Linked DNA regions of Homo sapiens: all the other regions are linked to region 1. Evidence: promoter capture Hi-C in 16 types of primary human blood cells and fetal thymus (Javierre and others, 2016). All regions are on one chromosome and are shown on one strand. Each heading gives the region's core, a stretch centred on a gene start or on the middle of the fragment in contact. The rest is flanking DNA. Distances are from core to core; before and after follow the strand shown. Region 1 holds the start of LDHB (lactate dehydrogenase B). Region 2 overlaps C2CD5 (C2 calcium dependent domain containing 5). Region 3 overlaps C2CD5 (C2 calcium dependent domain containing 5). Region 4 has its middle 77 kb from the start of ST8SIA1. Region 5 overlaps C2CD5 (C2 calcium dependent domain containing 5). Region 6 overlaps C2CD5 (C2 calcium dependent domain containing 5). Region 7 has its middle 3.5 kb from the start of C2CD5.

What was found. The method cuts DNA at HindIII sites, captures the fragments that hold promoters and counts their contacts. A CHiCAGO score of 5 or more calls a contact.
Region 2: a contact is called between a fragment that was not itself captured here and the fragment with the promoter of LDHB in region 1, in 4 of 17 cell types (naive CD8 T cells, fetal thymus, total CD4 T cells and 1 more). The highest score is 7.0, in naive CD8 T cells.
Region 3: a fragment that was not itself captured here is called in contact with the fragment with the promoter of LDHB in region 1 in 6 of 17 cell types (total CD4 T cells, naive B cells, total CD8 T cells and 3 more); the score reaches 7.8 in total CD4 T cells.
Region 4: a contact is called between a fragment that was not itself captured here and the fragment with the promoter of LDHB in region 1, in 2 of 17 cell types (activated CD4 T cells and non-activated CD4 T cells). The highest score is 7.1, in activated CD4 T cells.
Region 5: a fragment that was not itself captured here is called in contact with the fragment with the promoter of LDHB in region 1 in 7 of 17 cell types (total B cells, M1 macrophages, total CD8 T cells and 4 more); the score reaches 6.6 in total B cells.
Region 6: a contact is called between a fragment that was not itself captured here and the fragment with the promoter of LDHB in region 1, in 6 of 17 cell types (non-activated CD4 T cells, activated CD4 T cells, total B cells and 3 more). The highest score is 9.5, in non-activated CD4 T cells.
Region 7: a contact is called between a fragment that was not itself captured here and the fragment with the promoter of LDHB in region 1, in 5 of 17 cell types (fetal thymus, naive CD8 T cells, activated CD4 T cells and 2 more). The highest score is 7.1, in fetal thymus.

Annotation. Positions count from the first base shown.
Region 1 is chr12:21,656,398-21,659,097 of GRCh38, forward strand. LDHB (lactate dehydrogenase B) reads right to left here and starts at 1,445. Exons shown (of 8, transcript NM_002300.8): 1 at 1,354-1,445. RefSeq lists enhancers at 997-1,086, 1,117-1,366, 1,344-1,872, 1,747-1,926. The HindIII fragment of the contact is 8,571 bases long and covers 1-2,700 here.
Region 2 is chr12:22,529,861-22,532,707 of GRCh38, forward strand. The region is part of intron 3 of C2CD5 (C2 calcium dependent domain containing 5); the gene reads right to left. Among named protein-coding and RNA genes, the nearest start is that of C2CD5, 13 kb to the right of the region's middle. The HindIII fragment of the contact is 925 bases long and covers 1,095-2,019 here.
Region 3 is chr12:22,473,314-22,476,238 of GRCh38, forward strand. It overlaps C2CD5 (C2 calcium dependent domain containing 5), which reads right to left. Exons shown (of 27, transcript NM_001286176.2): 16 at 1,438-1,578. Among named protein-coding and RNA genes, the nearest start is that of C2CD5, 70 kb to the right of the region's middle. The HindIII fragment of the contact is 2,771 bases long and covers 56-2,826 here.
Region 4 is chr12:22,410,275-22,413,062 of GRCh38, forward strand. No RefSeq gene overlaps it. Among named protein-coding and RNA genes, the nearest start is that of ST8SIA1, 77 kb to the left of the region's middle. The HindIII fragment of the contact is 277 bases long and covers 1,277-1,553 here.
Region 5 is chr12:22,457,168-22,459,889 of GRCh38, forward strand. It overlaps C2CD5 (C2 calcium dependent domain containing 5), which reads right to left. Exons shown (of 27, transcript NM_001286176.2): 23 at 2,325-2,375; 24 at 1,317-1,418. Among named protein-coding and RNA genes, the nearest start is that of C2CD5, 86 kb to the right of the region's middle. The HindIII fragment of the contact is 418 bases long and covers 1,159-1,576 here.
Region 6 is chr12:22,506,681-22,509,380 of GRCh38, forward strand. C2CD5 (C2 calcium dependent domain containing 5) reads right to left here. Exons shown (of 27, transcript NM_001286176.2): 10 at 31-139. Among named protein-coding and RNA genes, the nearest start is that of C2CD5, 37 kb to the right of the region's middle. The HindIII fragment of the contact is 1,221 bases long and covers 819-2,039 here.
Region 7 is chr12:22,546,600-22,549,482 of GRCh38, forward strand. No RefSeq gene overlaps it. Among named protein-coding and RNA genes, the nearest start is that of C2CD5, 3.5 kb to the left of the region's middle. The HindIII fragment of the contact is 951 bases long and covers 782-1,732 here.

The DNA of each region.
Region 1 (2,700 bases), core at 195-2,694:
CCTGCATTTTAAACAGGCTCAGAAGAAAGAATGCTGCATCTCTTTTTGAAGGACGACACACATGAATAGTTGTTCTGCACTTAAGTTTATTGTTGTTAGATGGTCTGTTTACGACCGTTTTGGTATACAGGGGGCCCAGGAAGCAGTGGAAAATGAAAATGAAGAAACAGTGGCTATATAAATACAGATTCGTTGTTCTGATAGACCTTTTAATTTAGAAAACTTCAGGAAGTACAATTTAAAGGCTCGAACCAGATTTTCTTTCAGATATTTCTGGAGAAAGTGCTTTTCTTCAATTTTTCCTTAAAAAGAGTTTTAAGAAATGAGAAGAAAATGGTCTGCATGATATACAGGCCTGTGCCAACATCAGAGTGCAGGCTGTAAGGAACAAGAACGACAAACGGTAAAAATCTCTGAGTCTTGGTCCCTTATGTCTCCTCACTGCTGTGGATATAAATCATTAGAAATAAAGGAGCGCCTTAATTTCAGGAACAAAGATCTTCTTTGCAGAATCTTTCTCACCGTAATCTTTTAAAAATTCAGGTTTTGCTTTTGAATTCCTCCCCTCCCCCCATTCCCCAGGCCCTTACTGCAGCTTGTACTGCTCGCGGTGCGCACAAACCATCTTTTCCTCAGGGCACCGGCAGCAAAGAACAGCAGATCACGAGGGCATGCAGAAGCTAGAGATCTCCCCGAGTAAGGTCTGTGGGGACAAGTCTAGGACTTCCTTACTCGGAGCACCCAAGGCTGGTAAAGTAAACGAAGCCCCTAAGCATCCAGAAAAGAGGCCCTGCAGGAAAGAACTGGCGCATGGCTCCTGGAAAGACCGTCAGAGCCGGGTAAAAATAAGTGCAGCGCCAAACGTGCTGGTCATCTAGGTGCCTTTCTCCTCATCCCAGCGAGTGCAAGGGCATTTCTCTATTACCGTGGCAATATATTCAAATATTCGAGGTAAAGATCGTCCAGCCTTCATAGGCCACCTGGTTCCGTCCCCCTCCCCCAGCTACTCGGGCACGTGTCCCGACTCCCGCCAGCAGGCCGTGGGGGTGATGTGGCCGCCATGAACCCACCAAGGACAAGTAGGGCCTGGTTTTAGCTGCAAATGCAACAAGTCTCTCCGCTGAGCCGCAGCTGCTACCCTCTGCCTTCTGCTCCTCCGCCAGGGCACGGCCCCCCCTGCGCCCCAAACTGAGCGGCAAAGTCAGGGCCCGCGGCCGGATGCTCAGAGCTAAAGGCCGCGGAGGACAGATGTGCTTCTTCCTCCTTCCCGCGTCTCCCCATACAAGTACTACCCCGCACGTCCCATCAGGCTTGCCTGTGGGCCAGGATTCAGGGTCCTGAGCCGAAACCTACCAGGAGAGAGAAGGCTCTGGAGACCTCTGTAACAGTCGTGCGGAGAAGACAAAGTCAGCTGCGTGCGTCTCCTCCGGCGCCGGCTCTGCAAGGAGGGAGGAGGGGGCGGGGCCCCACAACCACCGCAGCCTCTTAGGTTTCTCCATTGTGATTGGAAATCCGAGTACCGCCTACCCCTCCCCTCGGCTCGCTCAATCCCCTTCAAGGACAAGGGCTCAAGTATGCACACTCCCTCCCCCACCCTCCAGATGAGGAGGTCTCCTTCCAGAGGCTTCCGCTCTCAGCTGGTCTCACATCTCGCAGGCTCTTCAATGCGGAGGCCAAGTTATTTATAAAACTTGCCCATCCCCGACTCTTCTGGACTTTAACGCTCTTGTTCTATTAGATTTAGTACAAATAGAAATAAATTTCTTTCCTTCTTTTTTTTATTTTGAGACGGAGTCTCACTCTGTCGCCCAGGCTGGAGTGCAGTGGCGCGATCTCGGCTCACTGCAAGCTCCGCCTCCCGGGCTCACGACATTCTCCTGCCTCAGCCTCCCGAGTAGCTGGGACTACAGGCGCCCGCCACCTCGCCCGGCTAATTTTTTGTATTTTTAGTAGAGAGGGGGGTTTCACCGTGTTAGCCAGGATGGTCTCGATCTCCTGACCTCGTGATCCGCCCGCCTCGGCCTCCCAAAGTGCTGGGATTACAGGCCTGAGCCACCGCGCCCGGCCAGAAATAAATTTCTATGTTGCATTTCAGTTAAACTTTAAAGGACTTAAAAAAATACATCTGAATTTAGATCATCTCCGTTTTAAAGTTCATTTGATGAAAATGACTATTTTTTTCAACCTGTTTCAACAAACACGCAATGATTGCTTACTCGTTGCCTGACAAGACCAATGAGGCTTTGTCCCTGCCATCTGAAGTTCCCCTACAATTCCACCTGGTCTCAAGGTCAGGCTTTGCCCTCTAGGGGAAATGTGGGACCACTAAGTGAGATGCACTTTCTTTTTTAGTCCCTAATCGACTCCAAAGCTGGATGTTGTCATTCATTCTGTCTTCAACACTCAGCCAGTGCTTGGTACCTAAATATAGCATTGATGAATAAATGAATGAATGATAAATTGGAGGAATTCTGAAGAGTCTGGCTTCAGTTCTGTTTTCTTATAATTAAAATGCTTTCAAATATAGCCATCTCACAAACTTCCTGTATGTGAAGTGTTTTTTTTTGTAAATGCATATTTCTTGTATATGACCACTAATTCTATAATTATTGCTTCAGTTTATTCTCAGTGCCAAGCATTGGTAAAAAACATAAATATAAGATTATGCCCTTTGAGGTGTTCCTAGTCCATTGGAGACAG
Region 2 (2,847 bases), core at 307-2,806, 870 kb after region 1:
CAGCCTGGAACACTCATGTGCTCACTGGAACTCCAGGTGCTAAACTGGAGCCAAAAGGACCTTGAATCACTTTAAGAGAAACCACAGGCTATGTATAGATGATGGAGTCCCAAATGACTGCGTGGAGCAACCACACTACCCTTACACTGCCTGGCACGACATTTCTTTCACATAAGAGAAAAACATCTATTTTGCTTAAGACATGTATTTGAGTGCTATATATATATATATATATATATATATATATATATACACACACACACACACACACACACACACAGTGTATATATATTATACACAACTGTATACATAACAACTATATATACAACTGTGTATATATATACAGTATATATATAACTGTATATATACAACTATGTGTATATGTATACATACAACTGTGTATATATATATACACAACTGTGTGTGTATATATATTTAAAACTGAATATATATATATAACTGAATGCAATTAACAACTGATAAACAGGGTTAAAAAAAGTACTACATAATCAATGTTAACTATAAACACAAAGTTTTAAGTACATTTTTCACAGCATATATATTATTCGGGAAGACTAGTCAAAACAGTAACTTACTAAATTTTTTTTTTTTTTTAAGACGGAGTCTCACTCTGTCACCCAGGCTGGAGTGCAATGGCGTGATCTCGACTCACTGCAACCTCTGCCTCCCAGGTTCAAGCGATTCTTGGGCCTCGGCCTCCCACATAGCTGGGATTACAGGTTCACACCACCACACCCGGCTAATTTTTGTATTTTAGTAGAGACGGGGTTTCACTCTGTTGCCCAGGCTGGTCTTGAACCCTGGATCTCAGGTGATTCGCCTGCCTCGGCTTCCCAAAGTCCCAAGATTATAGCTGTGAGCCACTGCACCCAGCCACTAACTTAAGAAATTTTAAGGGAACTGCCTGGTAAATCCCTTATTTCAGAAAATAAATATATTATTTTTCATATTGTTAAGTAAGCTGCTTGAGTACTCACTAGCTTTAAAAAATACCAGTTTATTACCATCATCATTAAAATGAAATATCATTTTTTAATATTTCCTAGTATCATGAAAATTACTCTGACACATGAAGCTTGCCTCCTCCCACCATTCCAATAACAATGTAATGAAAACTATTCGTTTTTAACCATTTCTAGGTTATAGTTGGGGGGGAAAGGCTATCAAAATAAACTATATAAACATCCCAGTGTTTTGCCTGGGTAATGAAGATAGACTCTAATTCTAAATCCATCTGAAATCATGTAAGGAAGTTACTCTGATTATTTTTTGACACATATATTCCACACCTTTACCTTAATAATGTAGTTTAAAATGCCACAATAGACTCAATACATGTGCAACGGGTCTTTCAAAATAGATAGTGGCATTTTAGAAGCAGCTAAAAGAAAAATTTGTACATATACACAAAAGAAAATGAGAAGAGAATCAAAATATTTCACCATGAAAATATCAACTAAAAATATGAATTTGTAGGACTCTCACTTCCTGATTGCAAAACTCACTACAAAGCTATAGTAATCAAAACAGTATGGTAATAGTATAAAGACAGACATACAGACCAATGGAATGGAGTTGAGAGTGCGGAAATAAATCCTTACATCTATGTCCAACTGATTTTTTTTAACTTGCCTCAAAGGTAAAGTCCTAAACAATTTACTGACTTCCAGTTCAATGTTCTAGCAGATAACATGGAAGTCCATTTTAAAAGAGGAGGAGTTTACAGAAACTAGAAATTACCTTCCTTAGAGAGATCCATTTGCTTGAAAACCTTTGGGTAAAAGCTACTGGGAGGTTAAGAATAACTGTTTCTATAACTGAGTCCTTTTGACAGAAGACTGAGACACAGCCAAGCTACTCTGATGAGGTCGTAATTTTGAGAAACACAGTTATATTCCACAGAGATAATAAATAAAAGCTGTCACTGTCCATAAATGCTGAGTCTACAGACGAGGTACACCTTTCTTATACAAACTGAGATTTAATTTTAGCAACAAAAGCTTTTCAAACTGCAGTTCTATTTTTTTAGCACACCTACACCACTCAGACTAATTAAACTATACATTAACGAAAGAACAGAAGATATACCCCAAAATGCTAATATTTAAACCCACTTTCTGCCAAACGCTGAATGTCTATCCAAAATGCTGAGTGATTTAAAAATATTATTCCCAGGCCGGGCATTACGCCTGTAATCCCAGCACTTTGGGAGGCCAAGGTGGGTGGATCACCTGAGGTCGCGAGTTTGAGAACAGCTTGACCAACATGGAGAAACCCTGTCTCTACTAAAAATACAAAATTAGCCAGGTGTGGTGGCGCATGACTGTACTCCCAGCTACTCAAGAGGCTGAGGCAGGAGAATCGCTTGAACCTGAGAGGCAGAGGTTGCAGTGAGCCAAGATCCCACCATTGCCCTCCAGCCTGGGCAACGGGAGTGAAACTCCGTCTCAAAAAAAAAAAAAAGTTTACATATATTATTCTCTTTTTTTTGACTAGTGCAACTCATATTAACATACAGCAACATGCTTCATAGCCACCTCAATACTACTCTGGAAAGAATTCATGTTTGAAAAAAAACAGAGGCTCCAAATGGTAAGGCTGTCTGAGGTCATCTGCAAATTAGCAGGCACCAGAAATAGAATTTGTTTTCTCTTAATCCAGACCTTTAAGCTTTTCCAATAGAGGGCAGCTATGCAGTATCCCAACCACTACAGAATGTGCCTTCCAACACTAAAAGAAAGATCACGGTCCTAATATAAACCATAAGCAAAGCAGCGCCTAAAAATCGTAGTGTCATTTCTTCCATCTTCAGGTATCAGTTTGGCA
Region 3 (2,925 bases), core at 191-2,690, 820 kb after region 1:
GGCGCTGACATTCATCTGCACCTCAGTTTCTAAGTCCTAACCTGCAGACTCGCTAAGCTTCTTCCCACATCACCCTCAGGACTTCAAGAACCACTTTCACTTCCACTTCACGTGGCTACCCACAGTCACAGCCATACCTCAACCCATTATTCCCCAAAACGTTCCACACCCAGGATCTCGAGCATTCTCCAACTACAGTCCTGTCTCTTTGTCCTCTCTTACTGGATATTCCACTTGCCCTCTGTCCTCTGCCCATGTTTGAAGCACTTTGTTCTCATGTGCCTCTCTACTTAGCCAGGATCCCAAGATCAGACTTATCAATAATGCCCTAGATCAAACTTCAGGTAATGTTTGGCATCACCTGGAAAGTTTGTTAAACAGATTCCTGGGCTCCACCTTGAAATTCTCATCTACTAGGTCTGAGGTAGGGGCCCAAGAATTTGCATTTCTTACAAGCTCCCAGGTAGAGCTGACGCCACAAGTAGGCACATCACACTTTGAGTAGCATTGCTGTAAATAGTACCCTGGAACTTTTAACCTCCTTGACCTGAGATATTTTCCATGACATATTTTCCATTCTCAGACTGTAGAGAAATGTGGGGAAAAAGTGGGGGGCAAATAACCATATAAGTTGAGTTTTCTACAAACTGACACTCTCACCTTGGTTAGGCCTGTGCGTCTCTCATAGATCCTTGTTACAGCCACTGGCACCGTTCCTGACTCTTTAAACCTCCAATCCCATCCCAACACAATTCTACCACCAGCTTCCTGCTACACCAAGATCAAAGCATCTGATTTTTCTCTCTCTCAACTTACATCTTAATCATTTATTTTCCTTTCCTTCAATATGAAAAAGAAAAATCTATCTCTTTGGGAGCTAACCATTCTACAGGGGAGTGCAGAGGAAGCAGATCTGTGAGGAAGGAGTCTCCATAAACTTTTCATGTGACATTTACTCTCTGGGAAAGTTACTAAAGTGTTCTTAGTATCTTTTTATAAAGATGGATCAATTATACCTTTTGAATTCAGTAAGAAAATACTACACTCAGAATTCACAGTGATTATACTAAAAAATGTTATAACTACAGTAATATACAAAAAAGGTAATAATTATAGTAAGTTAAAGAATGGCACTTCATTTAAATTCATTCAAGTTTACAAAAATAACTTCAAAGGTTTAATACTATTCTATCATTATTTCAACCCATACATTAACTTTTTCAGAACCATCTGCATTATTGTATCAGTGACCTGGTATTGAACAAACATATGTTACCAAGTTCTGTTATTTTCAAGTTTGTTGTATTTTTATATAATAACTTTTTAAATATTTATAACAGTTGTAATGATATAAAAGTATCATATTAATTTAGCACGTGAAAAAATGTGTATCTTAGCTTCCAAAACCTTTAAGAAATTAGTCCAATGCCACATTACCTCCAAAACAAAAGCATCTTTTTTCCCATGTGAAAGGTCTAATTCTGTAACTTCATCCGAGCTTTCTGATTGAGATCTTAGAAGTCTTGAGCGTTGCCTAGGTTCTGGGATGGGTGATCCTATAATCTCTTCAGATATCTCCTAAAAGAAATATAATTGTTTTATATCATATGAGATTGTCTTTTCCAGTTTAAATTTTACATCTTTATATTAGTAGACACCTACCTGTGGAGAAAAAGCCTGTAAAATATACTCAGTGAAGTCCGTACTTAAGTATAACCTTTAAAACTAAACTTTTATAGCAGATATGGCAGCCTTAATGATACACGAATCAGAAAAATATATATAACTGTCACAGACATAACAAGATAAAACTGACATCTAGTGTACACACAGGACACTACAATGTGTATGGAATTGGCAGTCCTTACAGCTCTGAAATCCAGTACTGCTGTGTGTGCATATTTTCTATTCAGCATTATAAAAGTCCTAATAGGCCTTAAAAATTTAAAGACTTATGTTCCTAGAAAGAATTCTAATCTTTTATATATTTTCTTATCCACTTTCAAAGCTCCATATAGCAAAATGTGAAATATGATCAATGTATGAGTATGAATACATATATACTTATACTATGCACATATTTGCTATTCAATTTATTAAGCTAAATAAACATTGGTACTTACAATAATGATCTTTTTAAGGTCAGTGTATGGTGCAATACTGTATGGCTTAGTGAGCTTTTTGCTGTTACATAGCCAAAGATCACTAGGGGTTCTAAGTGTCTGTCGGCCACAAGGAATGCTGGAAGAATATGAATACGTGAACGCAAAAGCAAAAGCCATAGCCTATTGCTGATGCAACAGAATTGTCTTTTTAATAAACAAGGAAATTGTACATAAAATTTTTCAAAAATATATAGTTTTAAATGTTCATTGGTAGTATGCACCTTAGATAAAAGACTACCACTGCACAATTTCATAATGTAATGATCTATGGAGCACTTTCACATCAATTTATCTTATTTGTACTCCAAATTAATCTGCCCTCTATAAAGTTAACATTATAATAACTACAAAATGGAAAAGAGCTGTAATTCAGAAGTAAATTAGTAGTCTGCCTAAATTTGGAAAACTAGCAAGTGTAGAGCCAGTCTAGGTCAGTCTTTTGACACACAGTGCAACGTTATTCCCACTAGATACCACACTACTTTTTATAATTTTACAATAGTTTTAAATTCTGTTATGCCTTTGTTCACAATGCCACAGACTTAACAAATATAACTGTCTGGTATTTAATATGTTCTAGATTCATACTGAAATTTCATCACTAGTACTGTTATTCTGAGAGATGTGCATCTTATTTTGATACCTTTGATTATCTCCATAAAGCTTAAGTGGTACTACACCTTTGTATTAGAAACATTTTTTAATGTATTGACAAAAAATTTAAACAGCAGCATTTATTTCAGTGAGGGCTATCATCCTA
Region 4 (2,788 bases), core at 165-2,664, 750 kb after region 1:
TAAAAATACAAAAAATTAGCGAGGCGTGGTGGCGGGTGCCTGTAGTCCCATCTACTCGGGAGGCTGAGGCAGGAGAATGTCGTGAATCTGGGAGGCCGAGCTTGCAGTGAGCCGAGATCGCGCCACTGCACTCCAGCCTGGGCGACAGAGCGACACTCTGGATCAAAAAAAAAAAAAAAAAAAAAAAGACAAGAAACTTTTCGGTCTAAGGACATATCATTTTGCTCTGATTTGGAGCTGTTGTCTATCATTCACAGTTTCCCCTAAATGCGGCTTCTATGCTTTAACGCTAATTGAATCTTGGCTAGCTGAGTCATTCCATTTTGCATCTGTATACTTGTATTACCTTGCTTCTAGAAAGACTGTGGTGAAATACTCACTTGGAGTCTGACTTCTCTGACTGGAGAAACTGGTATTTCCAGGTATTTTCCTACAGCAATAAACACATTCTTCCCATCTATTGCTGTGCCAATCTATTTTTTCAATGCCAGTACCAAGCCACACTGAGTGATTCATCTATTTTGTCAATGACTTCTATCCGTTGCTAGTGTCCTAGTAATCTAATAGCAAGCATATGGGAGTTTCAAGAAACTAGGTAACAAGATAGAGCTGAAAGGGAAAAAACATATAAACGAACTTTGAAGCAGATAAAACACCACTATTAAAATAATTATACACATATATATCCATACAAATATATATATAACTTTTTACTCTTTTGTAGATTTGTAGAAATATTTATTAAACAGTTAAAACATGAGGGATATCCAACCAAATACCAATCTAGGTGTTGCTGTGAAGATATTTTGTAGATGTGCAGTGATGAACAAGAGACACATTATTGCTACCGTACAGTGTTTGAAACAGAGGAAACCGGGACACTGGGAGAGAGTGGAAGATGCTGAGGTCAGAGAAGGAGTCAGGGGCTAATTCCTATAGGATCTTGCAGGATTTTAATTTCAGTCTAAATGTAATGAGAAAACACGGGGTGGTGGGGTTAATAGAGGGGGCTTGATCTGGGGAGCTCTATTATCTAGATGTTTCTATACAATTGTATCTGCTTTGTTGTGGACTTTTTAAAAACTTTTCTCTATAGTCAATGTGTGATAAAATTTTAAGATTTCTCATGGTCTTTGGACACTTAAACCTCAGACCGGTTTTGGAATATCCTTCCCTAAAAATTTTAACAAGGGACAAATTTAATAGAGAGACGACTGATCTGGGTGACCTCCTGAACCCCCTCCCAACATGTAATTCTGTATGTTGTGTTTTGAAAAGCTTCCATTTGTGCGATGCCTAGCATCTAATCTCAAAACTGTTCCCTGCAGTTGATAAGTGGTGTTTTTCATGCTCTTAAGTGGGAAATAGACCTCCATTTCGGGCCTAGCGTCTATACAGAAGCATAAGCCATAAAGACTTGCATTTTAACAGTTGATGCACTAAATAAATCTCTTATTCATGTTCCATTTTACTTGTTTGTCATTCATCTTATAATGAATTGTGTTAAATGCTTTGTCAGTTAAACTTCCCTAACTTGTTTTTCTTATTTCTTAAGCTTTTTCGAAAATGTTCAGTGCCTATATTATTATTATTATTATTATTATTATTACTATTTTGAGATAGAGTCTCGCTCTGTCACCCTGGCTGGAGTGCAGTGAGGCAATCTCGGCTCACTGCAACCTCCACCTCCTTGTTCAAGCGATTCTCGTGCCTCCGCCTCCTGAATAGCTGGGATTACAGGCATGTGCCACCACACCCAGCTAATTTTTGTATTTTTAGTAGAGACAGGGTTTCGCCATATTGGCCAGGCTGGTCTCAAACTCCTGACCTCAGCTGACCCACCCGCCTTGGCCTGCCAAAGTGCTGGGATTACAGGCGTGAGCCTCCACGCCCGGCCGCCTTTATTATTTAAAAAAAAAAAAAAAAAAAAAAAAAGTTGACCAGGAGCAAAAAGATTGTTTGAAACGCTCATTATATACATTAGCATACACGTGGTTTAAAATATAAAAGATACTTAGTTCTCCATAATCTAGGATTCTAGAAAGCTAGTTTACAATGAATAATGTATCTGGAAGAGGGTGGCTATTAGAACCTCTGGGGCTTTGCCATTTCAAATGAGAAAATATATTCTGTTCATAAGTGCATGGCATTTTCAGTGGTTGCAGAGACACCAATAACTAAGCACATTTGATTATAATATTAACAAAAAATTAGGCAGGGAACTTAGCAGTTTTTAATAAATTTAATACATTCAGAACTGGTAGGATAGAATAAGTATTCCTGAAGTGGTCTATAAAGTTTGAAATGGACTCCTTTCTAATCCTTCTTTGATTCTGACCTGAAAGTAGAATTGAAATTATGCTTGCAAGATTCCCACAGCTGTGTGGCTCTTTAGAACCAAGCCAAGTATAGAAAGAATCCAAGGGAAGTTTAAGCCGGCTTCTCTCTGTGTCACGTAACCAAAATCAAATCTTTCCCGAGGCAACAAACTACAATACATTATCTATTCTAGGATGGTTAAAAAAACAAATAAATAATAAAGCAAGATGTGATAATTTTAGTTAATAATGTACATCATTGTTCTTACTCAGTTCTCTGTGGAGGATCTCATAACCTAGGGAAAGAAACAGGAAGCAATTAACTACAATGGAGTCAGATACTTGAGGTAACAGAATAACATATGGGAAGCAAAGTAGACATGGATCCCAATTTTGCTTCTTCTAGTTTCAGTCCTTTCACTGATGTGCAGAAGGTCACTGTATCCAAGATAGAGCCTCCTGAAACACAG
Region 5 (2,722 bases), core at 118-2,617, 800 kb after region 1:
TTGGAGAAAAATGAGAAAACATTCAGAACAGACGCTGGTAACACAATTATTCCCTGAGGTTTCCAAATAAGTGGTGACAACATTCAGCTGTCTGTGAGGCTAAGCCATGTCATGAAAGAAAAGAAATTATCATGCACTGCATGCAATTAAAAAAGAGAGACAGAAAAACATGAGAGGAAATGCTGGAATGGAATTCTTTTGGAAGAAAAATGGCATTCCTGCAAAAGAAAATGTTGATGCAGTATAGCTACACACACAATGATTGGTTATAAAGTGAAGAAAAAGAAAAAGCGGCTGAGCATTAAAATTATCTGCTGTAGGAACAAATTATTACAAGGAGAGTGTGAAAGTTGTTCTATTTCCCAGTGCAATTTTTCCATCTTTTTCAGACGACTTCATCATTGTCAACTTGTAGATAAACCTTATGTTATCTAGTTGTAAGATACTGGTTTTTTCCAAACCTTTTTGAAAACCAACTCATAATTTTAAAAGCTTAACGACCTCTGCTAGCTAAAAGTTGGTTGTTTATAAAGTAAAAAAATAATAGCTACCACTTATTAAATAACTGCCATAAGCCAGACATATATATATATATCTAATCCTTACAACCACCCAAAAACACAGGTTATCATCATCATCCCCATTTCATGCATGAGGAAATGGAAGGTTAGAGAAGTTAAGTAACTTGCCCAAGGTCTCATAGCTATTAAAATGGCACTTCTAGGATTCAGAACCAGATCTGGCTGGTTTCACATCCTATATTATTTCCTGTGAAATGTAGTTTTTTCCCCCTTTTAATGTACGGTAAGCTCTTTCACTCAAATATATTTACCTCAAAATTTACCAAAACACATGGCATAAGATAACATATAAGTAATGATTCTGATTCTAGCAGTAAGGTAATAACTACTTTCTCACCATAAATTCTTTATTAGTTTAGCCCTCTGCATATCACACTTAATAAACCGACAGATGCCACATACTAAATAGTACCTTGGGTCCTGGAAGAATGTCTTTTCAATAAGAGAGTTGGCAATTTACTTCCAATTAGAATGATATAATATCTATTTATATACTTTTAAGAATACCTGCACAAAAAGGAAAATTTTAAAAACACAATTCTATAGGTAAAACTAATAAATCTAAAGGCCTTTCAAAAGCTTTTCCTAAATGACCGTTACAGTCTGCAGCTTTCACACTCTAATACATGATGGATTGGCAATGTTATTACTGGGTAGTAAGGTCTAGCTTTCACCACTGGGAAATCAGGGATATGTTTCTCAGATTATCATAATGTGGTAGAAACATCCGCCTACTTGTCTTAATTGATCCACGCCTTATGGTCTGAGCTTTCAGTTTAATGAGCTCTATCCAGCTGCTGCATCTGTCTGCAAAGGAACTGTAATCAACTGACGTTGCTGAAAACACAGACAGAAAACAAAAGAAAAAAACAAAGAAAAAAATATGGATGATGTCTCTTACTCGTCTTAACACTCCTTTCGATGATGTAATTTAACTGTAACTCAGAAAAAGAATGGTCCTTTTCAAGTCAGATAAGAGAGATAGTAAAGAGTCAAGCTTTAGACACTGATTTGTCCAAAACCAAGTTCTCAGTTAGCAGGCTGAGCATTTCTGGTGATGTCATAGTTGTGTGGTCTCCTAGGGAGAGCCTGAGTGGGGTCTAACATAAATATCAATGAAAGGACCACATACTGTGCTTTAACTAACTTTATTTCCTATTCTTCTTAATTTACAATATTTCAGTTGTTTCTATTTTATTTTATAATCAAAGCTTTGTGAATAATTCATTTCCCTAGTTTTACCCTAAAATTTTAAAAAAAGAGAATCAAATGTTGAAGAATATATTTTTAAAAGTTAGTAGTTGACTTATCTGTTATTAAAGTATCTTCTTTCTACAATCAGTAAGAGGAAAACCAAAGGGCCATTTTTGTTAATGTTTTGTTTCCATGTCTGATTTTGGGCAACAAAGCCTCTGATAATATGGGGTCAGGGCAGGTGTGAGCCTCACAAGTTCCCCCTTTTAAAAACAATAACTTTTACTACTGCTAAGCTGGAAAAAAAATTTTAAGGAGCTAAAATTTTATGCTTAGAAACTGGGAAACCATTAACATACTAAAAAATTTAAATATTAGTTTAATTGATGCTTTTAAAAGAACATATTCTACCTACAAAAAAAAAAAAGCCAGATTTTGGTGTCTATTCCATATTGTCCAGTGCATTTTCTTCAATGTCTATAATTTTATGCACCACCAAACTAGAATTTTACACCTTTGGTGACTATTTGCTTAATTAGACAAACTCACCTCTCTGTGCAGCTGGTATACCTGAGTTAGAACTTGCACTCTCCAGGTGTTCTAATAAGACAATATGAACAACATTAGCTCAGATGCTAAGTACAAGCCAGTACCTCTTCTTTGTTATTTGTTAATACCTCTATAAGCCAGAAGAATAGGAGGAAATCTTTATGGCTTCATTGCAAAAGCAAACCAAATAAAAGCATCTAGGTTTAAAATGCAGTTTCTATTGATAAATGAAAACTAGCTCAGTTCATAAATACCATGCCAAAGGAGACTACTTGCTTACTGTAACACAAAAAGAGTTTCAGAAACTTTATAGTCACAAGAAAATATAAACATAGTAACGAATGTGAGTATGATGAAAGCAGGATGTGAGACTAGGCAGAGAAAAGGGTCAATGTGTT
Region 6 (2,700 bases), core at 179-2,678, 850 kb after region 1:
AGGAAACATTGAAACTTTTTAAGAACATACCAGGATTGTGGATACGATCCAAAAGCTTCACAGAACGTGCACTAACTACACCCCCAACGTGTACAAGGAATCCAGGAGGAAATGCCGTCAAGGTAAAAAATGGAAATTCCTAGTGGAAAGAATAAGGGAAAAATACAACTTATCGTGTGTAGAGTGTAAAAAATTTGCTTATTAAAAAGCTTGCCATAGCAACTGTATTACATCCCTTGAAATAAAAGGCCACCCATTACACATCACACATGCTTTGTAATTAAAAGTTTAATTAAATGTTTAGAGTTTCAAATCCATTTCCCCATATATACAATGTTATACAGAATCCAAAGACCCATTTCATCAGTTCTCAATGAAGAAAAAAAAAGTGTTCCTTCAATTTAAGATATTTGAAACACACTCTTCCTTCCTCTGAATCTCCAACTCTGATGGAACTTCTCAATGAGATGAGGGAACTGCCCTATCCCTCTTCCCCTTTATCTATCAGTGGTTTAGACACCCCCTTCACATGAACACCCAGTATAAGACACTGGTAAAGACTCTAAAAACCTGGGGCCAAGGGATCTAAATGAAAGTGGGACCAAAGGAGGATAAGTGAGAGGATAAGCAGTGTGGGTTAAGAGAAAGAGGATAGTGGCAAATATCAAGTTGAGATGGGTAGAGAATCATTGTGTGAGGTTACTCTATCAACACCAATGTGGCAGGAACAAATACAAGTGCATAAAGGTACATTAAGGAAAGTTGAAAGGTACATAGATAACAGCTAGGAAGGCAATAAAATTCCACAAGTTCTTGCAAGCTTTATTCTATCCTTCTCTCTTAAAGAATAAAATTCATCAACTTAGAGACAAAGAGAAACACAAAAAAGACAAATGAAAAAGCCAAGAAAGGAAATTCATTGAAATAGGACCCAATAAGAAAACGGAGCTCCTGTGAAAACATGGAGGCCCCTCACATTACACAAATTGGATGCAAGTAAGGAAAACTTGATGTTTGACCTGTCTGGCTGCAAGATTAATGTAGCTCACTTAACTGGAATCACTTACCAGTAGCCTCAGCTATTTAGAACATAATTGAGCATAATTGAGAAAAATAAGCAAAACAGGGCTCTCAACGGTCAAAAGAACTGTTACGGTCTCAAGCTCTAAAGCTCATATACTTTATTCATAGGAGACTCCCACAGATCATATTCATACTATATTATAGTAGTTATAAATTTTTATCTTAAAAAGAAACAACTCTAAAATTTATCATGATCTCATTTTCAAGACCACCTCAGATTAAATGCAACAAATAAAAGCTGGTAAAGAGATACAGAATACCACCAGAAGCAGGCTTATTAAAAGCAGCAAGAATTATTCACTGGCTGCTTCAAGCATGGAGAATACAAACTCACAAAAGCATGATCACAAAGCACGGCAACTTGGAATCATTTTGCACAAAAGCTATCAGTCCTGTGCACCTCAGTAACCCATGAAGGTTGAGTATAAAAAAGTTTCTAAAATTTATTTAGAAATAAATTCAGTTCAAATTTAGAAGTAATCTTTAAACAAGAGAAAGAAAAATCTATGCTATGTAAGAAAAGAGTAAAAAACTGGTCTATGGAAGTGGTTAGGTATAGCCCAGCAGAAAGGTAGAGGGAAAATAAGGAAGAGGATGGAAGGAGAGTACGTCACTTATAATAAATGTATTATAATATGTTTAGTCAAAATGCATCCTTATTTCCATTTAAACTTCTTTTTCTGTCCTCTAAGTTTTGTTCCTGGAAATCTAATAAAAATTGTACAAACTAGAGGATTACCTCATAATGAATTCATATTTATTATTAGGAAATTTGAATGTAAATGAAGTTTTGAGTCATAAAAATATTCGAATGGATTTATTGTTAGGCACAGCACACACGGGGTAATTACACAATATAAGTATTAAGAAAGAAGTTGGGAAAACAGTTCGGTAATCACTGAGCAAGTACATTTGAACTTTGTAAATGTGAGTTTTAAATGAGAAACGTATAGGTAAGCTTATATTATTAATAATGTAGTTAGGTCTTTCAGATTTTTTTTTCAGTGTTAGGATCACTTAAATTTTAATATTTCCTCAAAATATCTGAGGCATGTGGTGGTCTCACAGAATAAAAAATCACTTTATATGTAATCTTTATACTTAAATCTTTTTTTTTTTTTTTTGAGACGGAGTCTCGCTCTGTCGCCCAGGCCAGACTGCGGACTGCAGTGGCGCAATCTCGGCTCACTGCAAGCTCCGCTTCCCGGGTTCACGCCATTCTCCTGCCTCAGCCTCCCGAGTAGCTGGGACTACAGGCGCCCGCCACCGCGCCCGGCTAATTTTTTGTATTTTTTTAGTAGAGACGGGGTTTCACCTTGTTAGCCAGGATGGTCTCGATCTCCTGACCTCATGATCCACCCGCCTCGGCCTCCCAAAGTGCTGGGATTACAGGCGTGAGCCACCGCGCCCAGCCTTAAATCTTTTAAATATCTAGACAAGAGATACTGAAAATAACATTTTTGTAAGCTAAATGGAAGATAGTACTTCCTTTTTCCTTCTAAAGAAATAGGTAAATTATGTATTAGAAAATATTTTCATATAAGATTTTACATAAGTATGAATAAATGAACCTAAATGACTTCTCAATTCAGGGTTCTTTACCCTTCTCCCCAAAGT
Region 7 (2,883 bases), core at 7-2,506, 890 kb after region 1:
AATTTTTTGAAGAGATGGAGTCTCCCTGTATTGCCCAGGCTGGTCTCAATCCTGGTTTAAGCCATCCTCCTGCCTTGACCTCACAAAGTGGTGGGATTACAGGCATGAGCCATCTTGCCCGGCATGATCAGTGTTTTTTGTTGTTTTGGGTGGTAGAGTTGAAGTCGTTTTTGTGGTGAAATCGAAGTATTACCGTATTACCAACTCATTTTTTAAAATATGAAATGTATAAAGAAAAAATATTAGAAAATTGAAGTTTAGCACCAATATTAATGGAAAATAATGCATTGTGTTCCAAAATGTAAAAAGTTGCAAATTGCACAATTAGAGGTTAGCAATCTCAGCCTCCTAATTAGTAGACTTTGAGGTACTTGTACGTACTTGTTGCCTTAGGCTTCATCAACAAGAGATTATAATTAAGATGCTTCCTGAAAACTATTTTTAGTAGATTTAAGCCTGACTTCAGTTGAACTGTTTCCTAATAATTGTTCTCGTTTGTTTTCATTAATGCTGGGAACAGTGCTAACTTTCTGACAAATCTACCATGATGTGACTCCTGATTACCTTGTTTAGCTTCATACCCTGACACTCTTTTTGCATTTTAAATTATCAATAACAAGAATTAACGTGTATTGATGGTTTGCCGCACACCAGCTACTGAATTCAGCGTTTCACAGCTGTTAAGGCTCCCTAAAATCCTGAGGTAGGAATTATCAGCCTTCATTTTATAAATGAGAAAATTATGGCTTTTCAAAGCTCTGGTGATTACCCAAGGTCACAAAGCTTCTAATGATAGAGGCAGGTTTTAAATCTAGACAATGTGATTCCAAGAACTCACGTCTTTGAAGATTACATGTAGTTTTCTAATAAACTATACTTTTCCTTCTTCCTGGAGTATCTCTCTCATAGTCATCCTACCAAATAGCTATGAATTCATAACTCAGTTCAAAAGTCAATACTCTGGTTTCTCTTTAGAGTGTATAAATCTTTTGCCTTTTACAAAAGTCACTTCTACATCTTCTCTAATCTCCTTCCTAATAAATATGCTCTTCACTCCCACCTATGCTACTACTAAATCTAATACATTTGTTATTATACTTTCCATGCAATAATTATTTATCCATCTCTCTCCCCCCCAACCCCCACTAAACCATGAGCACTCTGAGGGAATGGATTGCTTCTCACTCATCTCTCAATTCTCAGTTCTTTGTCCTGTGCCCTTCATGTGATCAACAAATTATTGTGGAATTAAATTAACAGTTAACACTTGCTATTACTACTTAGATTGCTCTTCTTTCCTGGCTTCCTAAAATGTTCCTGTTAATCTTTCCCATTCTTTCAGGTTAAATTACTCAAGGGTTGTCAGTACTTGGTGCCCTCTCCTCACTTCCTAAGCGCTCCAAAAACTATTAATATCTGGGTTTAGCCACCACCACTCTACAAAAACAGCTTTCACTAATGCCATCAATAACCTCTGGTTGCTAAATGCAATGAACACTTTTTTTAGTTTTAAGTTTTTATTTTTGAGATGGGGTCTTGCTGTGTTGCCCAGACTGGTCTCAAACCCTTGGGTTCATGCAGTCCTTCTGCCTCAGGCTCCCAAGTTGCTGAGACTACAGGCACGTGCCACCATGCCTGGCTTCAGTTTTTTATTTACGTGACTCTCAGTAGCATTTGATGCTGTTGACCACGCTGTCCTTAAAATAATCTTCCTCTTGGTATTCAGAAACCAAGCTTCTCTTACCTATTCTGGTTTATACATCTGTCTTCTCAGCCTACTCATTGTCCTTAACTATTAAATATGTGTTTTTCTCAGGTTCAGTTTTTGTCTCTATTCTCTTCCAACTGTACTGTCTCCCTAGGTGATCTCATCCAAGCTCACAATTTTAATTTCCATCTGTTTAGTCAGGGACTCTCAAATCGTTATCTTTAGTCTGTAACTCGCTTCTGGGATCTTGACCCATATATGCAACTGCCAAGTTACTATTTCCATTTGGAGTATCAAAGTGACCTCAAAAGTCAAGATGTCCAAAAGTGACCTCAAAAGTCAAGATGTCCAAAACTGACCTGATTTTCTTTACCTTTCCCATAACTACAACAACGAGAATGACAACAACAACAACAAAAGACCTGGTAGTCTTCTACTAAACAGCAATGCCAACTACATAGTCAATTGCTCAAGCCAGAAACTCACTGATTTAAGTTTGAAAGTGGGCTGGGATTACAAGTATAATTATACAAATGACAACTTGGGCTCAGTTCAGTTACTTTTGCTTTGATTTTTTTTTTTCCTTTGGGCCAGGGTCCCACTCTGTTACCCAGGCTACAGTGCGGTGGCAAGATCACAGTTCACCACAGCCTCAACCTCCCAGGCTCAGGTGATCCTCCAACCTTAGCCTCCTGAATAGCTGGGACTGCAGGCGCACACCACCACATCTGGCTAATTTTTATATTTTAGTAGAGATGAGGTCTCCCCATGTTGCCCAGGCTGATCTCGAACTCTTGGGCTCAAGTGATCTGCCTGCCTCATCCTCCCAAAGTGCTAGGATTGCAGGTGTGAGCCACCATGTGGCTCACTTTTGCTTTGATTAAGGAGTAAAAATGAGATAAGTAGGCATCTAGGTAAACTCATCATCTTATTAGTTCCCTTGTATCTTAATGTACCATGGGCATAAGGTACCATACCATACTTAATGTACCATGGGCATAAGGACTGCATCAAGTAAAATATTCTCTAAATTGGAAGATTATTGCAGTGGAACACATTGCTTTTTTTGGGAGTTTTGCTCTTGTTGCCCAGGCTGGAGTGCAATGGTGTGATCTCTGCTCACTGCCGCCTCCGCCTCCCAGGTTCAAGTGATTGTCCTGACTCAGCCTCTCGAG